Linked DNA regions of Homo sapiens: region 1 is linked to region 2. The links are contacts of gene promoters, found by promoter capture Hi-C in blood cells and fetal thymus (Javierre and others, 2016). All regions are on one chromosome and are shown on one strand. Each heading gives the region's core, a stretch centred on a gene start or on the middle of the fragment in contact. The rest is flanking DNA. Distances are from core to core; before and after follow the strand shown.

The links. The method cuts DNA at HindIII sites, captures the fragments that hold promoters and counts their contacts. A CHiCAGO score of 5 or more calls a contact.
Region 1: a fragment that was not itself captured here is called in contact with the fragment with the promoter of DENND1C in region 2 in 1 of 17 cell types (activated CD4 T cells); the score reaches 7.7 in activated CD4 T cells.

What each region holds. Positions count from the first base shown.
Region 1 is chr19:6,887,615-6,893,455 of GRCh38, reverse strand. It overlaps ADGRE1 (adhesion G protein-coupled receptor E1), which reads right to left. Exons shown (of 21, transcript NM_001974.5): 1 at 5,817-5,841; 2 at 2,913-2,975. Among named protein-coding and RNA genes, the nearest start is that of ADGRE1, 3.0 kb to the right of the region's middle. RefSeq lists an enhancer at 5,824-5,841. The HindIII fragment of the contact is 483 bases long and covers 3,149-3,631 here.
Region 2 is chr19:6,479,414-6,485,390 of GRCh38, reverse strand. It overlaps DENND1C (DENN domain containing 1C), which reads left to right and starts at 3,604. Exons shown (of 23, transcript NM_024898.4): 1 at 3,604-3,712; 2 at 5,340-5,404; 3 at 5,489-5,532; 4 at 5,673-5,722. The coding sequence starts at 3,696. RefSeq lists enhancers at 3,119-3,413, 5,010-5,509. The HindIII fragment of the contact is 23,241 bases long and covers 1-5,977 here.

The sequences.
Region 1 (5,841 bases), core at 2,141-4,640, 410 kb before region 2:
GCCAAGGCGGGCAGATCACCTGAGATCGGGAGTTCGAGACCAGCCTGACCAACATGAAGAAGCCCCCGTCTCTACTAAAAATAAAAAAAAATTAGCCAGGCATGGTGGTTCATGCCTGTAATCCCAACTACTCAGGAGGCTGAGGCAGGAGAATCACTTGAACTGGGGAGGCGGAGGTTGTGGTGACCCAAGATTGCGCCATTGCACTCCAGCCTGGGCAACAAGAGCAAAACTCCGTCTCAAAAAAATAAAAAATAAAAAAAGAAAGAAAGAATGAAATCCCATCCTTTGCAGAAACATGGATGGAACTGGAGGACTGGAGGACATTATGTTAAGTGAAATAAACCAGACACAGAAAGACAAATATTGCATGTTCTCGTTCCTACGTGGGAGCTAAAAATCATCATCATCATTATCTAATGGAGGTAGAGAGCAGAATGACAATTACCAGAGGCTGGAAAGGATAGTGGGGAAGGGGGATAAAGAGGGATTGACTGGTTGGTACAAAAACCACAGTTAGATGGAAGGAATGAGATCGAGTGCTCAGTAGCACAGTAGGGCAACTACCTATGAGTCAGGACATGTGACATTTGTCTTTCTGTGCCTGGTTTGTTTCACTTAATGACCTCCAGTTTCATCCATGTTGCTGCAAATTGTGGAATGTCATTCTTTTTATGGCCGAATAGCAATCCGTTGTGTATGCAGACCACATTGAGTTCAACCATTCATCTGTTGACGGACACTGAGGTGGATTCCATATCTTGACTATTGTGAATAGTGGAGTTGGGTTTTTTATCAAAGAAAGATGGGAGTCATGGGAGGATTTCGAGCAGAGTAGGGACACAACATAAGGTTTTAACATGAGCCTTCTGGCCACTGGTTGGAAGACGAACTATAGAAGATCAGAAATAAACTGACCAAGGAGGGGGTGACTGCACTTGTCCAGGTGAAAGATGTCAGTAGATACAACCCAGAGGGAATCAATGAAGGGAATGCAATTCAGGATTTTTTTAAAGCAACACTAACAAAATTTGCCGATGGATTGGATGTGAGGAGTGAAAAGAGAGGAACCAACGATAATGCCAACATCAATTAGGAGTATGGAAAAACTAAAAAGTATCATAAAAACAGAAGGAATGGATTATCGTGATTGTGACATTATTCACCCTGTTTTTGTTACACATTTGGTTTTGAGATCTACGTTCTTTGCTCCTATAATGTGCCTTGTTTATTTCCCTTCCCTGCATGAGGCCTCAGATGGTATCTCTCTTCTCATTTCCAGCTTCCTCTTTCATCTGTAGAGGCAACATTTCTCTATGCAGACTTCCGGCATTTTATCACTTGTGGTCTCTTAATGCTGTAAGTTTCCCATCATTCTCTTCCACTAGCCCTCTCCCTCACAACTGAAACCCACCAAGGTCAGAGTAACAACCCGGTCTTGTGGGACTAGGTACCTGTCCACCTCCCCATCTCATCTCCTGCCCTGTGTCATCAGTCACACTCACCTTCGCTCGGTCCTCCAAATTCTTTCCAACCTCAGGACCTTTGCACCCACCGTTCTGGCCACCAGACATGCCCTATCCCACCCTGCCCCTTTGCCTGGGTAACATCAATTCATCCATCCTTTAAGTCCACTGGAACATCACTTCCTTGAGAAAATTTTCCCAACCATCTCAATAAAGCCCTTTTGAAAAAGTCCTACAAAGGGGCCAGGCGCAGTGGCTCATGCCTGTAATCCCAGCACTTCGGAAGGCTGGGGTGAGCAGATCACCTAAGGAGTTCAAGACCAGCCTGGTTTCTAGTGAAACCCCGTCTCTACTAAAAATACAAAAAAATTAGCCAGGCGTGGTGGCGGGCGCCTGTAGTCCCAGCTACTCGGGAGGCTGAGGCAGGAGAATGGCGTGAACCTGGAAGGCGGAGCTTGCAGTGAACCGAGATCGCACCACTGCACTCCAGCCTGGGCAACAGAGCGAGAATCTATCTCAAAAAAAAAAAAAAAATGTGAAAGATGAGCTGTTAACACAATATAGACCAAGTTGCTAAGTTGCCCAAAGAAGAACCAGGAAACAGAGACACTGGGAACAGTTGTATTAGTCTGTTTTCATGCTGCTAATAAAGACATACCCGAGACTAGGTAATTTATAAGGGAACGAGGTTTAATTTGACTCACTGTTGCACATGGCTGGGGAGGCTTCACAATCATGAGGAGCAAAATTATGTCTTACTTACATGGCAGGAGGCAAGAGAGCTTGTGCGGGGATCTCCCATTTATAAAACCATCAGATCTCGTGAGACTTACTCACTACCACGAGAACAGTATGGGGGAAACCATCCCCCATGATTCAATTATCTCCAACTGGCCCCGCCCTTGACACGTGGGGATTCTTACAATTTAAGGTGAGATTTGGGTGAGGACATAGCCAAACCATATCAACAACTACGAACTGACAATGTCTTTCTTCCTTTATCCAGCAAGAGTTTATGTAGATGAGAGTATTTAACAAAACATAAAGAAGTCACTTTTTTTTTGCACATTGAGTTGTAGTTTGAGTAAATTCCATCCCTACTCTCACTACACTACCATTTATAAAGCTCATACTACATACCAGGTGGTTTCCAAAGCTACCTCTTTGAATTAAAGTTTCACAACATCCCTATTGTTATCTGTATTTCACAGCTTGGGAAACTGAAGTTCAGAGAGGTTATGTGACTTATCTGAGATCACACAGCAATTCTAAGCACAAAGGAAAGAGCCTGAAGTGAGAATCAGGAGACTTGCATGTTAACCCTTGCTCTGCCGCTAACTAGCTCCCAGCAAGCATCTGGATGAGGCTCAGCTTCCTGGGATGTTTCCCCGGGGAGAAAACTTTCTCTACCCCTTCAGGCATCTGCATTCTCTCTGGCCAACTTACCCTTTGTGTTTGGTTTCCGTGTGGGTCTTATGTGCCCTTCCCAGCTGTGCATAACACAACATCCTGTGAAGAAAGAAAAGAAAAACACCATGAACCACCAAAAAAAAAAAAAAAAAAAAAAACCTTTTGGGCTCAACCTGCAAAATTACTCCTGGCTTGGCCCCACAGAAATAGGTTTGAAGAGGCTAGATGACAAACCTAGTTAAGGAACAAACATACACTATTTTGCATAAGCTTAACAATGACCATTCCTGGTTTTCTGTACTTTGCTTTTGCTTTTCATTTTGTCTGTCTTTATCTTCTTTTTCTTTTTGATTAAATAGTTCCAGGCTAAGCACTGTGGTGCACACCTATAATCCCAGCCCTTCGGGAGGCCAAGGTGGGAGGATCACTTGAGACCAGCAGTTTGACACCGGCCTGGACAACACAGTGAGACTTTGTCTCTACAAAAAAAAAATTTTTTAAATTAGCTGGGTGGTGGTGACAACTTGTAGCCCCAGCTACTCAGGAGGCTGAGGTGGAAGGATTGCTTGAGCCCAGGAGATAGAGACTGCAGTGAGCCAAGATCATGCCACTGCGCTCCAGCCTAGGTGACCCTGTCTAAAAAAAAAAGTTCTAGCTGATTTTCAAAAACATACATTAAAGCATGCATTCTCAAAAGGGGTGATATATCCTCTAAGGACCCAAACTTGGTTCTCAGGAAGAGATCTTTTTAAGCTTACTCTTTTATGTATAAGATACATATGTATATATAGAAAATACATATATAGGTATACAGTATATCTGTAGTATTAACATTTCATGAGAGGGTAGGGCAATTCGTTTTTCTTTCCTTTTTTTTTTTTTTTTTTTTTTTGAGATGGAGTCTCACTCTGTCACCAGGCTGGAGTGCAGTAGCGTGATCTAGGCTCACTGCAACCACCAACTCCCTGGTTCAAGCTATTCTCCTGCCTCAGCCTCCCGAGTAGCTGGGATTACAAGCACGCACCACCACGCCCAGCTAATTTTTGCATTTTTAGTAGAAACGGGGTTTCTCCATGTTGGCCAGGATGGTCTCGATCTCCTGACCTCATGATCTGCCTGCCTCAGCCTCCTAAAGTGCTGGGATTACAAGCGTGAGCCACTGCGCCCTGCCCATTTTTTAGTGTTTAAAGGCAATGCAGCCCTGCAGCATTTAGGTCTCCTGCACCATCATCATTATCGCCATCATTATCACTATCATCATCACCATCATCATCTTCATCATCACCATCATCATCATCATTATTATCACCATCATCACCATTATCATCATCACCATCACCATTATCACCATCACCACCATCATCATCATCACCACCATAATCACCAACATCACCATCTTCATCGTCATTATCACACCATCATCACCACCATCATCATCATTATCCCTATCATCACCATTATCATCATCACCATCATCACCATCTTCATGGTCATTATCACACCATCATCATCACCATCATCTTCATTATCACTATCATCACCATTATCATCATCATCATCATCACCATCACCATCATCATCACCATTTTCATCATCACTATTATAACCACCACCATCATGATCATTATCATCACTATCATTATCACAACTCTTTGCTGATTATCTTCAGGGCAGAATAGGGAGTGTTAATGGTTAATACCATTGCCAACACCCCAAAATAACAACTCTGCATGCCTACATTTGATGTCCACAGGCCACCTATTTCTTCTAATGTAGCCTGCCAGTCAACAAGTCCCACAGATCTAAACTCCCAAATTCTATCTATTATTACTAACAAAAATTCTTCTACTCATTCATTAATTATTTTAGAGGTAATTCAGCATGCTGTTTAGGCATACAAAGTCTGAAGTCAAAGTGCTTAGGTTTAAAAATCTGGCTTCACCAATTAATGATTGCGTGGCCTTGAGGAAGTTATTTAATCTCTTTGTGCCTCAGTTTCCTCCTTGGTAAAATAGGGTATTCAGATCCACTCTTCAACAGCAGAGGAAACCCATACTTGCTACTTAGAATATGTCCCCAATATCCTCCATTCTTAAATTTGATCCAATGACCAAAACACACAAGACATAGAAGAAAAACCAGAAACACAGAAGATAAACAAGGCTGAGACAAACTGACACCTGAAGAAAGAGAAATAAGAGCACAGGAAGGGTCTATCTCATCCTTCAGGACTCAGCTCGAACTGCCCCTCCTCAACCCCAGACTTCTCCCTTCAACATAACTCCCGACCACATTCTATAACAACTTCTTTCATAGCACTTATCACTACCTGAAATTCCTATGTTTACTTATTTTTTGGGGCAACATAGTATAGTGGAAAAGCTTACAGACTCTGAAGTCAGACTGTCTGGCTTGAAATCCTGCCTCTACCCCTTATTGACTAAGTGGCCTTGGGAAAATTATTTTATCTCTTTTGCCTCAGTTTTCTCATTTGCAAAATAGGACTAATAATGACCCAATGTCATAGAAATGTTGTGACAATTGGATACACTCTATGTTTAAAGAAGTTACAGCAGTGCTAAGTGGGCTATGATCATCTGTGCCTTCTTTCCTGTCTGCTCCTACCCACTAGAATATCAGCCTCAAGAGTGCAGGAACTTAGTCTTTTTTTCTCACTGCTATATCCTCTAGTGCCTAGAACAGCACCTGACACACAGGACTTGCTCAGGTCAAATGAATGACTATAGAGAAAAATCTATCCTAACAGATGGACTTCCCTGAGCTATGGAATTTTGTCAAAGGTTCCCTGAATGAAGGTGTTTGCAGCATCCAGTCTGGACTTATGATCTCTTGGCTGGACCATCCATGGCCCTCCCATTTCTCCTGAAGTCTATTTCCAATCCAGGCCTCCCCTAGCCCCCCATTCAGCCTCACACTCACCCCAGAAGAGGAGCAGGTTGAAGCC
Region 2 (5,977 bases), core at 2,355-4,854:
AGGCTACAGTGAGCTATGATGGCGCCACTGCACGTCGGCCTGGGTGACAGAGTGTGACCCCATCTCTCTTTTTTTTTGGGTAGGGGGATGGAGTTTCGCTCTTATCACCCAGGCTGGAGTACAATAGCACGATCTTGGCTCACTACAACTCCCAGGTTCAAGCGATTCTCCTGCCTCAGCCTCCCAAGTAGCTAGCTACATAGCCACGCATGGTGGTACAGATCTGTAGTCCCAGCTACTTGGGAAGCTGAGTCAGGAGAATCACTTGAACCTGGGAGGCAGAGGTTGCAGATATTTTGTCATAGCAGCCTTAATTTTTTTTTTTTTTAACATAGAGTCTTGCTCTGTCACTCGCTGGAATGCAGTGGTGCAATCAAAGTTCACTGTAGGCTTGAACTCCTGGGCTCAAGTGATCCTCCCGCCTTAGCCTCCCAAGTAGCCGGGACTACAGGCGCTATCACCACACCTAGCTCAAACCTCTTTTTATTTATTTATTTATTTATTTTTATTTTTTTATTTTTTACTTTCCCGAGACAGAGTCTCTCTCTGCTGCCCATGCTGCAGTGCAGTGGTGCAATCTTCACTCACTGCAACCTCTGCCTCCTGGGTTCAAACAATCCTCCCACTCAGCCTCCCAAGTAGCTGGGACTACAGGTGCACACCACCATGCCCAGCTAATTTCTGTATTTTTTGTAGAGACGGGGTTTCACCATGCTGCCCAGGCTGGTCTCAAACTTCTGCCTCAAGCAATCCACCCCCCTCAGCCTCCCAGAGTGCTAGGATTACAGGTGTGAACCACTGCACCCTGCCAGAGCCACCGCACTGGGCCTCAAGCCTCTTTTATAAAGGCATTAATCCCACTGTTGAGGGTGGATACCTCTTGACCTCATCACCTCCCAGAGGCCTCACCTATTTTTTTTTTTTTTTTTTGAGACGGAGTTTCACTCTTGTTGCCCAGGCTGGAGTGCAATGGCGCAATCTCGGCTCCTCTTACTACTGCCTTGGGGCTTTAGGTTTCAACATACGAATTTTGGAGGGACACATATTCGGACAATAGCACATGTCCATCAGACTGTGTGAGGATGTGGCTGACGGGATTCTGACTCTGTATGTGTCCAGTGACTGTGGGTACGAGGTGTCTTCTTCTTCTTCTTCTTTTTTTTTTTTTTGATGGAGTTTTGCTCTTGATGCCCAGGCTGGAGTGCAATGGCACGATCTTGGCTCACCACAGCCTCCGCCTCCCATGTTCAAGCAATTCTCCTGCCTCAGCCCCCTGAGTAGCTAGGATTACAAGTATGTGTCACCACCACACCCGGCTAATTTTGTATCTTTAGTAGAGACGGGGTTTCTCCAAGTTGCCCATGCTGGTCTCAAACTCCCGACCTCAGGTGACCCGCCCACCTCGGCCTCCCAAAGTGCTGGGATTACAGGTGTGAGCCACCGCACCCGGCCACGAGGTGTTTTCACACCACACAGTGGTCTGAGTCTGTTGGCAGGATTTCATGTGTAGGTGTGACCCTGACTATATCATGTTCTGTTTTTGTGCCTGCAGATATGTTCACATATCCTGTCTCAACATGACTACGTCTGTCCACCTGTGTGCCTGTGTCTTTTTTGTTGTTTTTGTTTGTTCCTGTGTTTGTTTGGAGATAGGGTCTTACACCGTTGCCCAGGCTGGAGTGCAATGGCACGATCACAGCTCACTACAACCCCCACCACCTGGGCTCAAGGGATCCTCCCGCCTCAGCCTACAGAATAGCTGGGACTACTGCACCTGGCTAAAGTTTTAATTTTTGTAAAGATGGGGTCTTGTTATATTGCTCAGGCTGATCTTTAACTCCTGGCCTCAAACAATCCTACCTCAGCCTCCCAAGGTGCTGGGATTACTGAGCCACTGCCTCCAGCCCCTGTGTCTTTCATAGTCTGCAGCACGGCTTGAGTGTGTCGGGCTGTCATGAGTATCTGGCTGTCATGTGAGTCCAGCTGTGTCTCTCTCTGCATGTGGCCGGGTCTTGGCTATAACTATATCTGGTTATTACTTGAGCTATGTCTGTGCTGTGTTTCCATCTATCTGGGTCTATTTCTCTGTTATTCTGTTTGTATCAATGGCTGTGGTCTCTGTGTAACTGTTTATTGTGTCTCTGTCTGTCTCTGCATTTGTTTGTTTGTTTGTTTGCTTTGTTTTTGTTTTTGTTTTTGAGATGGAGTCTCACTCTTTCACCCAGGCTGGAGTGCAGTGGCACGATCTCGGCTCACTGCAACCTCTGCCTCCCGGATTCAAGTGATTCTCCTGCTTCAGCCTCCCAAGCAGCTGGGATTACAGGCACATGCCACCATGCCCAGCTAATTTTTTGTTTGTTTGTTTGTTTTTGATTTTTTGAGACAGAGTCCTGCTCTGTCGCCCAGGCTAGAGTACAGCGGCGCGATATCGGCTCACTGCAAACTCCGCCTCCCAGGTTCAAATAATTCTGCCTCAGCCTCCTGAGTAACTGGGATTACAGATGCCCACCACCGTGCCTGGCTAATCTTTGTATTTTTAGTAGAGACTGGGTTTCACCATCTTGGCCAGGCTGGTCTCGAACTCCTGACCTCGTGATCCACCTGCCTCAGCCTCCCAAAGTGCTGGGATTACAGATGTGAGCCACCGCACCTGGCCTGTATTTTTTTTTAATTAGAGACAGGGTTTCACCATGTTGGCCAGGCTGGTTGCAAACTCCTGACCTCAAGTGATCCGCTTACCTTGTCTTTCTGCGCACAATGGGTGTGTAACTGTGACTAAGTTGTTTTTTTTTTTTTTTGAGACAGGATCTCACTTTGTTGCTCAGGCTGGAGTACAGTAGTGCAATCTTGGTTCACTATGGCCTCAAACTCCCCAGGCTCAGGCGATCCTCCTGACTCAGCCTCCTGGGTAAGCTGGGACTATAGGTGCGTGCCACCACCGCCAGCTATAATTTTTGTAGCTTTTATAGACACAGGGTTTCGCCATGTTTCCCAGGCTGGTCTCGAACTCCTGGGCTCAAGCGGTCCTCCCACCTTGGCCTCTCAAAGTGCTGGGATTATAGGCGTGAGCCACTGTGCCCGGCCTGGGACTATGATCCAGCTGTAGGACTCCCTATCTCTCCATGTCTGTCGTCTCTGGCTCTTCTGCACTCGGTTTGTCTGTGCTGATGACTTCCTGAGCGTGTAACTGTCTGTGTCTGTGTCTGTCTGTCCGTCCCTGTGCCTGTACTTCGTGCTCTTTGTCCCCATCCCTGGCCCCCCCACCGTCCACTTTACAGGTGGCTCCCTCTGGTGGTCCACCAGTGACCGTCCAGGCCAAATGGACCAAGGGAAAGAGACGGGGAGGCATTTCATTAATAGACAGACTGTGAATCTTGGCTGCTGCGGAGCGGGGAAGGAGAGATGAGGGCCCAGGCACGATGGGGGGAACCAGACACAGTCCAGCCTGGCGGGGACGGAGCTGGGGGTCTGCCTTCCCAGGCTGACCACTTATTGCCCACCCATCCCCAACATAATTAGCAGGCAGGATGCCTGGGTTTCTCACGGGGGTGGGGGCAGGGCCTCTGTCCGGGGACGTCACCCGTTAAACTTCCTCTCTCAGCCACACAGGAAGCTGAGCCGGCTTGGGGCCCAGCATACACAGGCCCCCAGGACCCCTGGGGAGAGGGCCCCGCTGGGCTGGCCCTGCAGGGACCATGGAATCCAGAGCTGAGTAAGAGCCACCCCATCCCTCATTCTCTGGTACAAGATTCCCGGGCCAGGCCTGAGCCGGGGCAGAGGGGAGCTGGGGCTGGAGCAGGCCCGGGAGGTGCAGTGACCTGCCAGGGCAGGTGGCTGGAATCAGATACTCCATGGGCCTCCGCTATGACCTTCACTCTGGGACAGGCCACTCTCGGTCCCCTCCTCTCTCTCTCTCTCTCTCTCTCTATCCAGCTCCTGTGATTATGTCTATAGCTCTGTGAATGCATGTACCCCTCTGAGCTTTGTCCTTGGTATGTCTGAGTGATGGCTTCAGGGGGTCCACAGGGCGGATGATCAGGGCAGAGGGGAGGCTGGGTGTTGGTATGAGTGGGTGATCGTGTGTGACTTGTGTCGGCGTGAGGGTGAAGTGCTGGGGTACCCATGGTGGGGACTGTGTGTGCAACTGGGCGGGACAGTGTGTGTGCAGCTGATCTCCCTCTAGATCTCCCTGTCTCTCTCCTTGAGCCCAAGGCTGCCTCTTCTGCTTGATATGGGGGCAGAGGAGGAAAGCAGAGATTGCAGGGCTTACAGTAAGTACCTAGGTATCCTGCCCTCCTTTCTCTGATGAGACATGTGGGACCAGCCACGAGGGTTCTATGGGGTCTCACACACAGAGACACACAGCCAGCCCACAAGGATCCCACGCGGTTACCCAGTGACACTCACAGCTGTACAGGAAAATATAGATGTCATTCACTTGCTCGGGCACACACACTCACATCTATACAAGAAAATATAGATGGCATGGCTAGATGCAGTGACTCAAGCCTGTAATCCCAGCAATTTGGGAGGCTGAGGCGGGCAGATCACCTGAGGTCAGGAGTTTGAGAACAGCCTGGCCAGTATGTGAAACCCTGTCTCTACTAAAAATATGAAAATTAGCTGGGCGTGGTGGCGGGCACCTGTAATCCCAGCTACAGGGAGGCTGAGGCAGGAGAATCGCTTGAACCTGTGGGGTGGAGGTTGCAGTGAGCCAAGATCGTGCCACTGTACTCCAGCCTGGGTGACAAAGCAAAACTCCATCTCAAAAAAATAGATAGATAGATAGATAGATAGATAGATAGATAGATAGATAGATAGATAGATAGGTGGGTGGGTGGATGGATAGGTGGGTGGGTGGGTGGATGGATGGATGGATGGATAGACAGAGACAGACAGACAGACAGATAGATGGATATATATATAGAGAGAGAGAGATGTAATTCACTTAGCTTGGGACTGCACGGGCTGTCCTTCATATCTGTGCAGTCTCATGCCACAGATATAGGAGACAGTCTCATCTTTTCAGGCAGACAGCAGACAGGATCACACACACACTGCCTGCTCACAAAAGCCATGCACTCAGCCACACACAATCATACACAGCCACACACACACAGTCACACTTTCTCACTCCATCCTGTACTTGTGTGTTCAATTAACACTGCTGCACACACAGCCTCACACAACCACACACTCACAGCCACAAACCCCCAGAGTCATGCACATGCCGACGCACCTTGTGGCACATGCACACACAACCACACTTGTGTGCAAAGTGGCAGACACAACCACACATGCATAGAAGCAAGTCTCTGGACCCCTTCTGCATCCCACAGAGGGGGCTCCCCTGCTGTGTTTGATTGGTTCTTCGAAGCGGCCTGCCCTGCCTCCCTGCAGGAGGGTGAGTTGGGAGCCTGGGAGTGAGGGAGTGGGAGGGGAGGGTGGGCCTGGGTCGCTGAACTTAGAGGCGTGCTCTCTTCTACAGATCCCCCCATCCTGCGGCAGTTCCCTCCAGACTTCAGGGACCAGGTATTCAGGCTGGCTCCTTGCTCCCCCAGGGCGAGGGCCAGTCTCCCAGGGGGAGGGGACTTGGTTTCTTGGACCTGGAGCCCAGGGAGGTGGTGCCCGACCTCAGTGGCCAAGCAGTCTGCGCTTTTCTTCACCTCCAGGAAGCTATGCAGATGGTGCCTAAATTCTGCTTCCCTTTTGATGTGGAAAGGTACGGAAGGGCGGGGAGATCCAAGGACTCAGGGACTCAGATCTCTCAGGGGCCCCAAGGACTCAACACCTAGAGACTCAGACATCTGGAAACCCATACACTCGAGGACCCTGAGACTCAGAGACTCAGACACTCAGGGGCCCTGAGAACTAGGGACCTATATACATTAGCATCCAGGGACTCAGACACTCAGGGACCCAGAGATCTAGGGACTCAGGAACCCAGGGACCCAGGGACCCAGGGACTCAGAGACTC